2 separate regions of the Homo sapiens genome follow, and region 2 is linked to region 1. Evidence: promoter capture Hi-C in 16 types of primary human blood cells and fetal thymus (Javierre and others, 2016). All regions are on one chromosome and are shown on one strand. Each heading gives the region's core, a stretch centred on a gene start or on the middle of the fragment in contact. The rest is flanking DNA. Distances are from core to core; before and after follow the strand shown. Region 1 holds the start of SPX (spexin hormone). Region 2 overlaps LDHB (lactate dehydrogenase B).

What was found. The method cuts DNA at HindIII sites, captures the fragments that hold promoters and counts their contacts. A CHiCAGO score of 5 or more calls a contact.
Region 2: a fragment that was not itself captured here is called in contact with the fragment with the promoter of SPX in region 1 in 1 of 17 cell types (megakaryocytes); the score reaches 5.5 in megakaryocytes.

The regions. Positions count from the first base shown.
Region 1 is chr12:21,524,898-21,527,597 of GRCh38, reverse strand. SPX (spexin hormone) reads right to left here and starts at 1,302. Exons shown (of 6, transcript NM_030572.4): 1 at 1,120-1,302; 2 at 632-712; 3 at 406-463. The coding sequence starts at 1,125. The HindIII fragment of the contact is 15,623 bases long and covers 1-2,700 here.
Region 2 is chr12:21,645,778-21,648,477 of GRCh38, reverse strand. LDHB (lactate dehydrogenase B) reads left to right here. Exons shown (of 8, transcript NM_002300.8): 3 at 1,462-1,579. Among named protein-coding and RNA genes, the nearest start is that of LDHB, 11 kb to the left of the region's middle. The HindIII fragment of the contact is 475 bases long and covers 1,034-1,508 here.

The sequences.
Region 1 (2,700 bases), core at 53-2,552:
CGCGGGGCTGCCGAGTTTCCAGCGCTCCCAGCGCAACCCCGGGCTGAGCCAGGGGCCCTGGAGCTCTGGAGGAAAGCCCCGCGCCTGACCGGACGCCGCAAGGGCGCTTTGGAGCGGAGGTCGGGTTACTGAGATATTTCCCAGGCAACCCGAGTCCCCATTTGGACCAAGAGAAGCAACCCTCCAGTTTTGGATGGAGAATTTCTAATAAGGATGGAGGATTTCCAATAATCAGGGACTCTTCCCCTCTCCCACCCCTCCCTCACCTACCGGTCTCTTTGATGGCCTCGATGATTTAAGGGAATAAACTCGACATTATTCTCTCTCCATAACTCTCCATCTATCTGTTCCTGACTCCTAGGGGTCTTCCATTATTGTAGGAAGAGCGAAATATTTGGAACTTACGTGCCCCTTTCAGGTAGAGCATAGCTTGAGGAGTCCAGTTCCTTCTCTCCAACAGTCTCTATAGCCCGGGGGAAGGGAAGAGCAGTTAATAAAACATTGCAGCTCAGTCCTCTATTACAGCAAAATAAAGGAAAAAGAAGAGAATAAAACAAGAAGGAAGAAAGAAAGAGCAGAGTGGACACACAGTGCGCATTGTTTTAAAATTTTTTATTTTGCATTTGATTACCTGCGGAGCGCAGCTGGAGTTTCCCAGGAAAACAAACACCAGGAAAAGAGCCAAGGTTGTTGCTGCCAGACTTCTGAGTCCCTATATGAAGCGATCAACCAGAAAGGGTCATTTCTGTGCCAATAGGATCTTCTGCTTCCTTCCTTGACGCCTGGACAATTATAAACCCCCTTACTTCTCGCAATATTCTGTTTTAATACTCAGTTTTCTGGAGGTGTTTCCCTTCTACCTTCTAGTTAATTCACAAAGAGTCCACTTGAAAAAACGTATTTAGAAACATATTATTTGTATTACTTCACCCAAATGAAGAATAAGTAAATACGTGAATTTTTTTCTTAGTAAAATCAAATGATTCTGTTATTCTAAAGGCGTATCGTTCAAATATCCTTTAAACTCTAAAATCCTTATTAAACATGAAATAGGTAAAATGCTATAAAACGTTTTAAAAAATAGCTAAGAAGTCTCAAGTTAATAAAGCCTTTACTTACCTTCATGTTCTGCGTCTTTTCAGAACCCTGAAATAACTATAACTTTATCTGTGAGTTTTCGACTCTTGCTCTGAAATTGGAGCTTTTAAAATCTTGGTGTTAAGGGCACCTCCCCATCTGGAGTAGAGTTTGGGAGTCCACAGGGACATCTTGTCAGTCTTCAAGCAAGATTGAGAATCTGATGACTCCTCCAGGGAGCTTCATTGCAGGAAGTAGAGGAATGATTGATGGGCAGAAATTATTTGTTTAAATACTGATTGCATCACCCAGGAGGCCTTCAGAATGTGTCAGCATCATTGGCCTTGCTTTTCCTACTAGCTGCCCAAAGTAACATGTTATTATTATTATTAATGAAAACAATCAATAGTCCAAGGCAGAATCAAAAGTAAAAGAATAAATCAGAAAACTTTTCTTGGGTAACTAGCCATCAGTCTATCACTGATGGCTAAAGATGTATGAAAAGGTTTGGGAATCTCAATGGAATTTGACATCAGTCATTCACTTAATTATCAATTCATTCTGTTGTTTAGCAAATATTTATTGAGTGCCTATGAGACACACAATCCTTGTATTTCAAGGGACACAGCCATGCACTGAAAAGACATGGTCTCTGCTTTGATCTAAGTTACCTACTAGTTAAGGTACACAGTAAACTGATGAATAGATAAATAAGACACAGTAGTTACCCCTTAATCGTAGGTGTGTGTGGGGTGGAGGAGCATGTTTCAAGACCCACAGTGGATGCCTGAAACCACTGATACGTATATGCCTTATTATACTATTTTTTTTTATCTGTTCACCAAGATGGTTACTAACTGATTAATGGGAGAGTGGTGTTTACATATGGACATGCTGGACAAAAAGATGGTTCATGTCTTGGGTGGGCTGGAGCTGGACAGTGAGAGATTTCAACACCCTACTCAGATTTAAAGCTCACAATTTAAACTTATTAATTCTGGAATTTCCCATTTAATATTTTCAGACTGTAGTTGACCATGGGTAACTGAAACCATGGAAAGTGAAACCGTGGATAAGCAGGGACTACTGTAACTACAGAATGTTTTAAATTGTTAAGTAAAAGTAAGCAAGGTGATGTGATAGGATAAGTGGTGGGCTACTTTAGGGAAGGTTAAAAACAGAGGGTAGTCTTGAAGGATAAGGTGAAGTAATGGGAGAAGCTGGGCAGGAATTAGTATTCCAGGCATTCTCAATAGAAGAAAGAAAAGCAAAATCTGTGGACAGCAAAGAGCATGACTTGCTTGGGGACTAGGAAAGAGGCCAATGGAGGCAGCGTTGTGTGGGTGAACGGGGGAGGTGCTTTGAAATGAGATTGGAGAAGAAGAAATGGGCCAGTTGATGTGGAAATACGATTATAAGCAATAGATGATGATGGCTTACACTGGGATGGTACACACAGGGAAAGAAGAGCTGTAAATGAATTTGGAATACATGTTGTGGAGGTAGAAAATATAGAACTTGTATATAAAAGGGATATGAAAGTGTGAGAAAAATAAATCAAGGATGATTCTTAGGTTTATGGATAAAACTGTGGGTAAATTATGAAGTAATTTACTGAAATTA
Region 2 (2,700 bases), core at 22-2,521, 120 kb before region 1:
TTGAACAACATGGGCTGGTTCACTTACAGGCAGATTTTTTTTTTCAACCAAAAGTATATTGAAAATACAGTATTCAGGGGATGCGAAACCCACATATATGGAGAGTCTTTTGCATCCGGTGAATACTGTCCTTTCTGTATACTTGATTATGCCCAGATTTTGGTACACTCAGAGGTCCTAGAACCAATCCCTTGAGTATCGTATATTGAGGAATGACTGTATTGGCATTTTTAACTGGGCCCCAGTATTGATGTATTCTACTTAGCTGATATTTTTGCTAACAGCCATAAAAACAGTAAGAGCAAGGACTCTGGTGATGTTTCAATAGGAGGGATAACCACTTTATAAACAGTTTATAAATTATGACTTCCATAAGATAATGGAATTTCATAGCTGAAAGGTTGCTTAGATGCATGTAGACCAACCACCTTTTTTTTTTCCTTTCTTTCACTTTTATGTAGATATTGAGAAAATTTAAAAAATTATGATTCCAGGCCCAGCACTGCCTATTCCAGCATTTTGGGAGGCCGGGGCGGGTGGATCAACTGAGGTCAGGATTTCGATACCAGCCTTGGCAACATGGCAAAACCCCATCTCTACTAAAAATACAAAAATTAGCTGGGTGTGGTGGCACGTACCTGTAATCCCAGCTACTCAGGAGGCTGAGGCTGGAAAATCACTTGAACCCGGGAGGTGGAGATTGCAGTGGGCGGAGGCTGCAGTGAGCCGAGATTGCACCACTACACTCCAGCCTCGGCAACGGAGCGAGACTCCGTCTCAAAAAAAAATATGACTCCAGATCAAGATTAAATAGTATATTCATTACTTTAGATTGTATTTTGAATGGGGGACAGAGAATGACAATTGGAATAGAAAACAAAAGAAATCTGAGACTGGGCAAGTCTCAGGCACAGATTTGGAGTGATCACATGAAAAAACCTCCCAATCCTAGATTCCTCTGTCCATAAAACTCATCTTCCTTTCCCCACCAAGACATTTGAGTGGATCAGAGCCACCCTGAAGATTCCAAGCTTCAACCTGGGTTTCAAATCCTACTCTAAAGTAAACTCACACTCCTGGTGATTTAAGCCAAATCTACCATCTCAGAAAGCCTCCAAATTGGGGTGACCTCAAGGATGGACACATTGCCCAAGGTTGTTTCTGGGCCTGAGTGTATTTTTGTTTTCACCATTCCCTCTCCATTAATATAGACTTGTATTCACTAGGCCTACTCTTGAACTAAGCTGGTTTCCTAATGAATCTTTAAGTCTACATGTTCTTAAAGTATAGTTTGTATCATGTGAACTGAATCCTCATTGAGTATCTAACTCCATGGTAAAATTCTCAAGATGTTTAGATCTTTGGTGCTTAGCCATGTTAAAGATCTTTCTTTGGGTTAGATTGTGAGCTGACGCATCCTAGAGTGGCTTAGGGTTCTAATGCCTGTTTTTGCGTTTACAGTCTCTGGCTGATGAACTTGCTCTTGTGGATGTTTTGGAAGATAAGCTTAAAGGAGAAATGATGGATCTGCAGCATGGGAGCTTATTTCTTCAGACACCTAAAATTGTGGCAGATAAAGGTAATTTCACTTAATGCCCAAAGTGATCTAATATTTTTTTCATGGCCCCAAAACACATTTGGAATGCATCTTACAGCATAATAGATTTATTTGTAAGTAGGAAAGGTTGAAGTTTTGGAACAGTTATTTCAATAACTGTTAATAAGATATTTATAATGTAGTTTAGCAAATTCAGATTATTGCAAAATTGTTATATAATTATAAAATGTTTCCCTCTTTTTCCTCATTTTATAAAAAGCTCTTACTTCTCTACTGTATTCTACTTTTTATTTCTCAAATATTTTATATTCACTTATTAATGGACAGCTACCTAAAATGAGTTTGCTAGCCGTAAGTGATCACTGATATGTCACTAACAGGAAATAACAAATTGGATTTATCGCATTGTTTGGCTTATTTTACCACGTTTCTTCTATAGGCCAATTTTCTTTCATCCGTTTCTAGAAACTCATTGCTACTGCTAAAATGTACACATAGCAAATTGACATTTTCCCATTGGAAGTGTATGTAGAAAATGGTTATGTATTCCACACTCCACACTGCCACACTAGTTATCTTTATCCTAAAACAGATGCTTTCCCTAAAATGAAAGTTTGAATGCATTCTTTTCTTTAAAGATTTCTTATCTTTTTATAAACCTTTGTCTGTATTCTAAAACCTCTGGCAGGGCCTGCACAGCTCTCAATTTAGATATAACCTGCATTTCCTCATGGCTCATCATTCTCCTCTCCTCCCTCAGTCTGTTATAAAATTAGTCTTCCCATCCTGGTGAATCTGGTGTTGGCAGTTTCTTTTCATCTGGGTCCAGTTTATCCTTAAGGTTAAACTCAAGTATCACTTACATTAACCCTCTCCCACAGACCTTCTACACATTTGATATGTAACATTTTGGGCTATTGTATTATAATGCCTTGTTTATATGTATCTGAGAACTAGCATGTTTTAGACCCCAAAAGTATTGGTACAATGAAGGGGTGGCCTGCCTCTCCACCCTTGTGGGCATTTCTCGTCGGGTGGAACGAGAGACTGGAGAAAAGAGACACGGAGACAAAGTATAGAGAAAGAAAAAGTGGGCCGAGGGAACCGGCACTCAGCATACGGAGGACCCACGCCGGCACCAG